3 separate regions of the Homo sapiens genome follow, and regions 2 and 3 are each linked to region 1. The links are contacts of gene promoters, found by promoter capture Hi-C in blood cells and fetal thymus (Javierre and others, 2016). All regions are on one chromosome and are shown on one strand. The core of a region is centred on a gene start or on the middle of the fragment in contact, and the rest is flanking DNA. Distances in the headings are between cores, read along the strand shown.

Region 1 (3,794 bases), core at 519-3,018:
GGCCGCCAAGAATCCGGCCTTGGGGTAGTCAAAGAGTGACTTTAGTCACTTCAATCGGTTTTGTTTTGTTTTGTTTGTTTTTTGTTTTTTGTTTTTTTTATATATATATATACTGAGGGTCTCCATGTGCCGGAGTAGCCCTGGGCGAGTCGGCTGCTCAGATGATGAAGGTTTCGTCCCAGCCCCGGAGAACCCACATTGTCCTGCGCACCTCCGCACCACCGCGATTCTCTAGTCCTCCAAAGCCTCCCAAGACTGTAATGGAGTAAATTCAATTTCGTCGTGATATTTCCAAGACTATATCAGTGAAGTTTTTTTTTAAGAGTTGTGGGCCGGGCGCGGTGGCTCACGCCTTTAATCCCAGCACTTTGAGAGGCCGAGACAGGAGGATCACGAAGTCAAAAAATCGAGACCATCCTGGCCAACTTGGTAAAACCCTGTCTCTACTAACAATACAAAATTAGCTGGTCGCGATGGCGCGCCTGTAGTTCCAGCTACTCGGGAGGCTGAGGCAGGAGAATCGTTTGAACCTGGGAGGCGGAGGTTGCAGTGAGCCGAGATTGCGCCACTGCACTCCAGCCGGGAAGACAGAGTGAGACTCCGTCTCAAAAAAAAAAAAAAAAAAAAAGATTTGTGTTCGGGTGGGTGGCAACTGAGAGCTCGCCGAACCACAACCTCTTATTTAACAGATAAACAGATAAGGAAGCTGAGACCCAGAGGGAGCCAAAGCAGTGGAGAAAGCGAGTTCTTTGGGACTTTTCCCCTCTCCCCTTTCCCTCCTTCCCCAGGCTCCCACCTACCCCAGGCTCCCACCTACCCCGGGCTCATTTCCGCCCCCCACCTCCTCCAGGTTCACTTTGTAGGACTCCGTTCCTGCAGGGCCAGGTCCCTCCGAAGTCCCCGGGAGCGTGAAGGCGCCTGGGCTCGCGAGCATACGCGGAGGCTTGGCGCACCCTGGCACGTCCCAAACAGCAGAGCCAAGACTGCGAGACACTCACAATAGTTAGGGGAAGAGCCGGCAGTGGAGGCCCAAAATGGGCTGACCCCTAACTAGGAGGCGTGGGCGCGGTTATTCAGGCTAGGGCGCACGCGGACGGCAGAGGGGCCCACGCACGGTTCCCATGCTCTCCTGGAATTGAGTGTTGGCTCTCAGGGGACTTTGCTGGAAAGCCTCCATCTAAGCCCCTTTCCGAAATCAGGGAAGCTGGACGCGTTTAGAAAAAAGAAAAAAAATAGGCCGGTCGCGGTTGCTCACGCCTGTAATCCCAGCACTTTGGGAGGCCCAGGCGGGCAGATCGTCAGGAGTTCAAGACCAGCTTGGTCAGGGTTTCGCATGGCTAAAACCTGTCTCTACTAAAAATACAAAAATTAGCCAGGGTGGTGGCACGGACCTGTATTCCCAGCTACTCGGGAGGTTGAGGCAGGAGAATCGCTTGAACCTGGGAGGCAGAGGTTGCAGTTAGCTGAGATGGCGCCACTGCACTCTAGCCTGGGCAACAGAGTGAGACAAAAAAGAAGAAAAGAAAAGAAGAAAATAATAAGGTTTTAAACTTAAAGGATACATTCCTACTTACCCTCTCCACCCCCACCCTCTGGCTGCAGTTTCCATTTGCTTCCAGGGCTGAGTTTAACCTCCACCTCCGTTCCTGGGACTGTGGTGGAGGGGGCGACCGGCCCCTGGAGCGTGGGCGCTAGCGAGGTAGGCGAGACAGGGCGGAGCCCCCCGGAGGTATATCTTTATAAAGGAGGGGGCAGCTGCCAGAGGTCGATGCTGCCGTTCGGGTGGAGAACGTTCAGCACCGCGGCCAAGGACAAGGCCCCGCCCGGGTCCATAACCATTGTCCCCAGCTTCCAGATATCTAAACAGCCTCTCTCTCTTTCTCTCTCTCTGCACCTCCCCTTCACACACCCCACTTTCTTCTTTAAAGAGAAGAAAAAAAACCCACCTGGCGCACCTGTCCTTTTTTCTTCTATTTTTCAGAACCCTGGGCGGAAAGCGCGAGCGAGTTGGGCAGATGCCGGCGGCCGCGGTGCAGGAAGCGGTCGGCGTGTGCTCCTACGGGATGCAGCTCAGCTGGGACATCAACGATCCGCAGATGCCTCAGGTAAGTGAACCGGGTGTGTGCGGGCACGCGGGGCGCTGTCCATCCGAAGGAGGGAGAATGGCATTCGAGTTCTTGAAGAGTCTGCGGACGGACCATACACACACACACACACACACACACACACACACACACACACACACACACACACATACCCGCAAAATTTCTGGGTTTCTGAGGCCCTCTCAAGTGTAGAAAGAAAACTGGACTCTACAAAAGGCTGAGTTGGGTTTAGAAATGTGTCTTCTTGGCCGGGCGCTGTGGTTCATACCTGTAATCCCAGCACTTTGGGAGGCTGAGGCGGGTGGATCATCTGAGGTCGGGAGTTCAAGACCAGCCTGACCAACATGGAGAAACCCCGTCTCTACCAAAAATACAAAATCAGCCCAGCGTGGTGGCGCATGCCTAAAGTCGCAGCTACTCGGGAGGCTGAGGCAGGAGAATCGCTTGAACCCGAGAGGCAGAGGTTGCGGTGAGCCAAGATCACGCCATTGAACTCCAGCCTGGGCAACAAGAGCAAAACTCCATCTCAAAAAAAGAAGAAGAAGAAGAAGAAGAAATGTGTCTTCTCCCAGCAATTTCCTTGTGCTTGCCTGAAATCACAAGCAAAGCAGCAGGAAATGTTGGTCAGGCTCCACATTCCCAGTCTTGGGGAGAGCGGGACGCCTGTCCTTTCACTTCCCTTTAACCAAGGTAGAAATTAGGTGCCTCTCTCCTTATTCATTTACTTTAAATCCATGAGGAAGCTAAGGAGAAAATCTAAGCAGATGTAAATACCACTGCTTCTCATGCAGCAAAACTGAGGTACAACTGTAAAGTGAATCTAATGACCTAAATTTAAAACAAGTAGCCCGACTTGAGCAATTTGCTCAGACCTCCCTAACTGCTCAGAGGAAGGAGGCCCCATAGTCATGCCAACAAGGCCACCTGTACCCAAAACTTACTTCTTCTCTAATGACAAGCAAATCATCATTCTTTTAGGGTGAATTTGTTGTATTTTGCTTTATTTCAATAAAGCAAAAATGGTTTGGAGCCAAGTCCAAAGAATGACTGGGGTGGATGAAGTGGTGAATGAAGTGGGTGGTTTGAAGCCAGTTCCAGAGAATGACCAATTATCATTAGTCACACTGGTTAGGGCCAAAATTGAGTGATGTTGAAGTCCTGGCTGTAGGGGGTGGGGGGTGTAGAATGAGAGTTGCTTCCCTGCCATTTGCAGATGTGGGCTTCCAGCAATGTTGTGGCACAGGGATAAAAGAGATGGGTCATTTTGTCCGCAACTAAAATGTGTCTGATAGGTGTTCAGATGAATAACAATTCATTGCAACATTGTGTCGCCTCTCATAGAGGTCAGCACTTTTTTGGATCCATATATTTGTAGTAGGTTAGGTGTGTTTTACTCCTTTGTTTTTGTTTGTTTGTTGGGGTTTTTTGTTGTTGTTTGTTTGTTTTTTGAGGCGGGGTTTAGCTCTTGTTGCCTAGGCTGGGGTGCAATCACACGATCTCAGCTCACTGCAACCTCCATCCCCCAGGCTCCAGCGATTCTCTTGCCTCAGCTTCCCGAGTAGCTGGGACTACAAGCATGCGCCACCACGCCCAGCTAATTTTGTATTTTTAGTAGAGATTGGGTTTCTCCATGTTGGTCAGGCTGGTCTCGAACTCCTGACCTCAGCTGATCCACCCGCCTTAGCCTCG
Region 2 (3,794 bases), core at 875-3,374, 640 kb before region 1:
TACTCATAATATATATATAAATGTGTACCCAGTCACTGATATATATATTGCACAAATGCTTAGGGAATTATACAAATAGAATAAGATGAATGGCCTTCCTCATAGCCATGGTCATGTCACCTAATTTTCAGTTTGAAAAATGCTTGTATCAGCTAGAGCAGCCTGTCAACTATTTTAGTTTCTTCATCTTTCCAGATGACCAAAGGAATTTAAGACAGTTGTAAAAATCAAATTAACAAACATCTCTTGAGTAAGACACTGAGTTAGGCAATGGCTGACTAGATGTCATCTTTCAAAATTAGGCCAAGGGTTGCACGTAAGCCAACAAGTTGCACCACAAAATGTGACTTCCTCCCTGCAACCAAAGAGGGCTGCTTGCTTCTGAGTCTGGCTGCCAAGGGATCTTCCCCTTTAGTTTCAACTTTCTTATATTCATCCTGGATTTTCAACTTCCAAAGTGCAGTTTAGTATTTTATTGTAAAAACACAATGCGTGAAGTACAGTAGAAGGATGAATAAAGAATTTAATTGACTCCAAGGTGAAGATTAGGCCCTGACAAATTCCTGGTCCATGTGTAAGGAGAGGCCCATTTAAAGGATCTCATTGCTAAGAGGGCAGGTCTTAGGTTCTTACCAAAGTTTAAAAAAAAAAAATGAAAGATCTCATTGTGACTTTGTTAATGACCTTCTTCTCTCTTTCTCTGGAACCTCTGGAAAAGTTACTTAAAGAGAAGACAAAAAGGCCCTTTTGCCCTTTGCCCACCTTCCTTCCCTTCTGAAAGTTTGAACATGGTGTGAATAGATAATTAAGCATTTTCAAATTATTGTTTATTCCTTTCTATTCTTTGTAAACCTTTGAAAAGCAAGGCCATTTCCTTCTCATATATACTGAGGTCTAAGACATGAGAATGAAAATAATAAATCTATGGGTTTAAATTGATCACTTACTTTGAAATTACTGAGTAGACATCCACCCCTTGAAATAGAAATACACCCCTTGGAAGTTTTATTTTTGATCCAGTCACAGTAGCCTGTTAGGGCTATTAATGACTGTGAAAAGATTTATGTATAATACATAACTTCAAAAAACTTATATTGAAAAGCTTGCCTGGTTTGAAGTCATTGGGAATTTAAGCCAACAAGGTTGATTTTCCATTTAAAATCAGAATTTTGTTTTTCATATTTAGGTATTTAAAAACAGCTTTGATAAATATTTGGCCCATTTTTAAAAAAGCCCTCAATGGTGCTAATGTGTATAATGTGAGGGTAGATTTGGTGTTTGGATATAGTCAGAAGTTGTTTGGTGTTGTGTCAGTTAAGTGACCAGCCTGGGAAATATTTATTTTGATCAAAACTGAGGTGTATCTTAAGAGGTAAAACTTTTGTCTGAGTAATTCATAACCTGGTTTTGAAGAAAATTCAAAAGTATTTGAGCTAATGGTAACAACATTAGAATAAGAGTCATACCTTCCAGAGTGTCTTCTCTGAAGGGTAATATCAACTGGGAATTATAAATGATACAAATGTGACTATAAAGTAAAATACTACATAACTAAAAATATTTTACTTTACAGTCACATCTCTTGAAATCTTTCATTTGCACCAGATTTGGTCTTCGATGAAGATATCATATCATCTCCCAATTCTTTAGCTATTTTCCTCTCCTTGGAGATCTTATTTATTTTCTGTGTTTAAATATACACAAATAACTCCTATTAAAAGAGAAACAAAATTGAAAACAACATTCACTTTATTGTTTACCTGACTCATCTAAGATCACTTTTTCCTTTCCCTTACAATAAAAATTCTTCAAAGAATAACACAGTATATTGCCAACATTTAACTGAGTTCCGTTTTTTTCCCCTAGCGATGGGGTCCCGCTCTGTTGCCCAGGCTGGTCTCGAACTCCTGGCCTCAAGCAATCTTCCTGCCTCAGCCTTCCTAGTGGTTGGGATTACAGGTGTGAGCCACCGCACCTGGCTTTAACTGAGTTCTTTCTATGGGGCAGACACTGTGTTAAGCATTTTTCATGTTATATTAATCCTCCCTATGAGCAAAGTGTTATTCTCCTCACTTTAAGGATGAGTATATTAGTTTCCTGATGCTGCCATAATAAAATACTATAAACTGGTGGCTTACAATAGCAGAAATTTATTTTCTCATAGACCTAGAGGCTGGTAGTCCAAAATCAAGGTGTTGGCAAGCCCCTTCTGAAGCCTCAAGGGAGACTCTGTTCTGTGCCTTTTTCTTAGTTTCTGGTGTTGCCGGCAGTCCTTAGCGTTCCTTGGCTTGCAACTGCATAACCTCAGTCTCTACCTCTGTCATCACGCTGGGTGTCTTCCCTGTGCATGTCTCTCTCTGTGTCTCTCTCCTCTTCTTATAAGGACACCAGTCATATTGGATTATGGAGCCACCCTTCTCCATTATAACCTCATTTTAACTAGTTATGTCTGTAATGACCCTACTGCGAAAGAAGGTCACATTCTGATCTGGGAAGGACATGAATTTGGGGGACCATATTCAACCCAGTGCACTGGGACTTAGATACACTTCTACTCGTTAAGTTGTACAGTTTGGGTGGAACCAGGATTCAGGTACTGTGACCATCAGAGCCTGTCATCATAACTGCTTCACTATTTGATGTGACCACTGGCCCATCGCCTTGCTGCTCCTCCTTCATCCATGTGATCCCGTTTCCAGTCCCAGATTGCCATTGAAACTCTTCTCCTAAAGGACCTCACCTTCTGGATCATCCAGCTTCTTCCTGCCCTAGTGGTGACATCCTCCTCCTTAGCACTCTGCTCCCTTGGTTCTCTGGCCACACTCTGAGTCTCACACTCCAGACCGGGTGTTCCCTCTTGCGCTTGCTCATCTTACTCATCCTATGTCCTAAATGTGGGTGCTTCCCAACTCACATTTCTCTGTCCTTCCCTTCACATTCTTTCTTTCTGAAATCTCTTCCATTCTCAGTTTCAGTTGTAACTTCTATGCCATTGGCTCTCCCTTCTGTGTCAGTCTGTTTCTCCCTGCTGCCCTCTCCCCTAAGCTCCAGCCTCATACCTTCAAACTCCTGCTAGACAAGAAGTCCTACCATCATCTCTAGCCCAGCATGCTCAAGCCAGGTATTTTTCTTCCTTGAAAAGCTTTCATCCTGTCTCACCATATGCACTGACACACATGTCCTGGCCCAAGTCCTTGCTGTCTCATGGAAGGAACACTACAGCAATGCCCTAGTTAACTGGCTTGATGCCAGTCTCCACCCTTCCAGTGTGTCTTGCATAACCTTGACCAACTAATCTCTCCAAACCCAATTTTAATTCTTTTATTCCCTGTGCTCAGCCATTCCCTATGTTCTGCTGCTTCATGTTTACACTCCTCTGACATCTCTTTATCCACCATCTTCACCCAGTATAATTTCCCATGGCTTCAATATGCACTTGTACTCTAGTTAGGCATTGCTTCTCTGCAAAACTGAGCATATTCTCATTTCTGTGCTGTGACTTATGTTATCCACTCAACCCTTTATCCTCTCCAATCTTGCCTCTTCCATCAGGCCCCAGATCAAATCTCACCTCTTCTATGCAGTTTTCTCTACCATTTCAGGTTTCATTCATTTCAGTGGAGCCTCAAGGAAAGAATAACAGAAAAGTGGTCAGAAATGCAGGATGAACTTGCTCTCTCCGTGTCCTCTGTTCTTAGCTTCTATGTTTATATTTGCTCCATCTTTCTCTCTCTCATCTCAGAACTTCTAAAAATCAGCATACACATTACTCTGAGCTGTCCTGTTTTATTAAT
Region 3 (3,794 bases), core at 933-3,432, 620 kb before region 1:
TTTTTATTAAAATGACAGTGTGTATAAAGTCAGTATTTTACTGATTTTGCCCAATGTTGTTTCCACAAGGGTGGTTCTTTTAAAATAAATCATATATGTCATGCTTTTGCATATGTGGCAGTCATGAAAATGCACCATGTTGGTCTGCTGCTTCAGAAGCATAACTGACTTATGGCCCAACTGCTGTCCTTTGTGACGCACCACCACCTTTATGCTAAATCCATGCTTCCTGCCAGCTCCCCCGAGCCAATGACTCAGTGCAAATGCCTGAGTTTCCCTGGCAGAAGCTAGAGGAAAGCATAAAGAGGTGAGATGTGCTAGAATGGATATATTATGTGAAACCTGGACACTAACCAGAGGAGTATGTCCCACAGGAAGGCCCATTCACCAAAACATCAGGCCTCATCTATGTTCAGTGGTTGCTGTCACAGAGCTAGGTAATTAATATTCATGAGGATAGTAAGGCCTCAGAATGAGAGACCAAGTGGCCAAGCTTAACCACTAGAAACCCAGAGTCCACAGTTACTGTAACGACCGGGAAGATCAGAGGCATCAAAGGGGCTTGACCTTCAAGGAGGTGGAGGGATGGATACTGGAGCATGGCATTCCCACAGGCAAAATAGATAAGGGCAAACAAGGCTGACGCTTAACATCTACAACGAGAAAAGGCAAGAAAGGAGGGGCAAGAGGCTGACAGCAATTGCCCCAGTAAAAAGTCAGGATACTTTCCTCAATTCTAGGAACTGAGCCAATTTTCAGGTCCAAAATCCATTGACTAAAAAGACAGCCAGGTCCCTAAGAATAAGTACCCTGCAACACTGCAACAAGTTTATATCGAGATGACTTGTCCCATCCTTCCCTAAAGGGACCCACGACCATTTGCTTAGGTGACTGTATGCCAGGGAAAGGGAAGGTCTAGACTATTGCACACAAGTTCCGAGTTGACCTTGACACCCGGACCCCTTGTTGAAGTGGGGCCTTATAAGAATCAAGTAATGAATGGAGTCCTAGCTGGGTCTGGCACAGAGTGGGCCCACAGAACCTGTAGACTCACCCAGGAAGCATTTCTCCATTTCCATGTATCACTGGAATGAATGTACTTGGCAGTTGGAGTAAACCCTATATTTGTTCCTTGGTCAGTGAGGAAGTGCTATCATAGTGGGAGAGGCCAAATGGAAACTCCGAAACTGTCCCCCAGGCAAGATGGTAAATACAAAATAGGGATTGGTCGTCTCTATCATATCTCTTTTTAATTGCTAGTCTCCCCCAGCAGGAAGTGGATGGACTCTGAAGAATGACAACAGATGAGTACAGTTTCAATCACATGGTGGTCGACTGCGGCTGCTGTGCCAGAGGTGGGATCACAGCTGGAGCACATTAAACAGGCCGCAGGCCCGTGGCATGTGGTTGTCTATTTGGTGAATGTGCCTTTTCTATCCATATTAGAAAAAAAGATCAGGAACAATTCACATTCACGTGGACAGACTCCAATATTCATTTATTGCTTTGCCTCAGAGCTATCTTAACTCAGCTGCCCTTTGCCATAATAGTCTGAAATAATCTAGATCACCTGAACCCACGGAACATCAAACCCATCCACTGCATCAATGACATCATGTTCATTGGCCAGAAGAAGCAAGAGGTGGCTAGTATGCTGGAGGTCTTGGTAAAACACTCATGCTCCAGAGAGGAAAAGATGAATGAGGATTTAAGGAATCCAGTGGTTAGGTTCATGCTGGAATATTCCCTCCAAAGCAAACGATAAATTGCTGCATCTTATATCTCATACCTCAAAAAAGAAGTGCCTGGTAGGCCTCTTTGGGTTCTGAAGGCAACTCATGCCACACTTAAGACTGCAGTTCCAGGCCAGGCGTGGTGGCTCACGCCTGTAATCCCAGCACTTTGGGAGGCCGAGGCGGGCGGATCACGAGGTCAGGAGATTGAGACCATCCTGGCTAACACGGAGAAACCCCATCTCTACTAAAAATACAAAAAAAAATTAGCCAGGCGCGGTGGCAGGCGCCTGTAATCCCAGCTACTCAGGAGGCTGAGGCAGGAGAATGGTGTGAACCCGGGAGGCGGAGCTTGCAGTGAGCCAAGATAGCGCCACTGCAGTCCCGCCTGGGCGAAAGAGCCAGACTCCGTCTCAAAAAAACAAAAAGACTGCAGTTCCAGCTCACAAATTGGGCAACATGATTATTGGCAGCTTTGAGTTGTGCCTGAAGCACAAAAAGGCTAGAGATGCAGGTCTGTCACCTGTGAAAGGGGAGGGAGAAGGAGGGTTAGTTAGGAAGAGTCTCAAACTGCAGTGCTGTCCTGCAAAAGTCTCAGCCAGCCCAACAGAGAGCTCCAGAGCAAAGGCTGCCTGTTGGAGAAGTTCCATGATGAACAGAAAGGGCCAGGCCCTGGCACGCCCACTGTGCTCATTAGCTGTTAAAGGTCTGCCTAGGAAAAGCATGGCCTCAGCTCAACTGCTGTGGCTAAGCAACCAGAGGCACTGCAACCAAGGCCATCACCTAACTGCACCCTCACAGCTAATCTACAAGTTCTTTCTTGAAGGGAGATCATAATAGCTCCATATCCCCATATTGGAGAGAATTCTCACTCTGCATTCTGCCAAGGAGCTGGTGTGTGTGTGCGTTTGTGTGTGTGTGTGTGTGTGTATGCACACATGTGACAAAGGTTTATTTAACTTATCAATGAATGAAGAAGGAGAAGAAAAATTACTATATATAGTCAATGAACAAAAAGAATGCTGGAATAAGACTGCAAGTGAAGTTGAAACTGGTAAATTATAAAACAACACAACTATAATCTGTAGGATTTATATTTCCTACTGGACAGAAATGAATTGCAACATAATGATCCTCCACAAGTTAACATTAACTTTACAAGAGTCTCACCTTCATCAATAGCAAATAATCAAAGTAACTTTCTTCCTGTAAAACTTCCCAACTGGGGGAACATTTGCCCTCTCCTCACCCCAGAGATATCTGACAATGTCTGGAGACATTTGTGGCTATCGCAACTAAAGGGATGAAGGTGTGCTACTGGTGTCTGGTGGGCAGGGGCCAGGGATACTGCTAAATGACCTATTACGCCCTGAACAGCCCCCACGGCAAAGAATTACCCAGACCAAAATTTCAATAGCGCCAAGACTGAGAATCGTGTACAGATGACACTTTTGACAGCTTATTAGGCAATGCTCTAGTATGACACCGAAAGGGCGTAAGAAGATCTTTAATGTTTCCTTCTGCTTTCACTTAAATGTAAAATTGGGATAATGATATATCGAAGCAACTTCATTTACGGTGAAGGATGATTAAATAAAACAATTGTGGTTGATTGTATTTTTACAAAGATGATGCACAAATATATATCCCATCCCACATGCTCTTCTTCTGACGTGACACTGACATTCCTGTATTGAGGGGTGGAGGCTATGTTCCCTTCCCTTGAACCTGGGTAGACGTTTGCAATTACCTCTATCAACAGAACACAGCAGAAGTGACATTTCCTGACCTCTGAGGCTGGATCATAAAAAGCAACACGGCTTCCTCCTGGCTCTCTTTCTGGGGACACCACCTTGGATGTTCTGAGCCAACATGAAACAAGTCTGGCTATGCTTGAGAAACCCTAAAGAGGGACTACATAGAGACAGAGAGAAGCTCCCACCCCAGCCTGTCCAGTCTTATCAGCTCAGACACCAGACACGGGAGCGAATGAGGCTTTACAATAACCCCAAGTACTGTCTGATTGCGATCTCATGTGAAAGAAGCCTCCAGGCAGAACCA

The links. The method cuts DNA at HindIII sites, captures the fragments that hold promoters and counts their contacts. A CHiCAGO score of 5 or more calls a contact.
Region 2: a fragment that was not itself captured here is called in contact with the fragment with the promoter of GCM2 in region 1 in 1 of 17 cell types (M2 macrophages); the score reaches 6.0 in M2 macrophages.
Region 3: a contact is called between a fragment that was not itself captured here and the fragment with the promoter of GCM2 in region 1, in 1 of 17 cell types (M1 macrophages). The highest score is 5.6, in M1 macrophages.

Annotation. Positions count from the first base shown.
Region 1 is chr6:10,880,015-10,883,808 of GRCh38, reverse strand. It overlaps GCM2 (glial cells missing transcription factor 2), which reads left to right and starts at 1,768. Exons shown (of 5, transcript NM_004752.4): 1 at 1,768-2,105. The coding sequence starts at 2,016. RefSeq lists a silencer at 1,579-1,873. The HindIII fragment of the contact is 9,517 bases long and covers 1-3,794 here.
Region 2 is chr6:11,522,461-11,526,254 of GRCh38, reverse strand. It overlaps LOC105374928 (a long non-coding RNA gene), which reads right to left. Exons shown (of 5, transcript NR_187824.1): 5 at 2,131-3,624. Among named protein-coding and RNA genes, the nearest start is that of TMEM170B, 13 kb to the left of the region's middle. The HindIII fragment of the contact is 2,040 bases long and covers 1,105-3,144 here.
Region 3 is chr6:11,496,691-11,500,484 of GRCh38, reverse strand. All of the region lies in intron 3 of LOC105374928 (a long non-coding RNA gene), which reads right to left. Among named protein-coding and RNA genes, the nearest start is that of TMEM170B, 39 kb to the left of the region's middle. The HindIII fragment of the contact is 3,374 bases long and covers 496-3,794 here.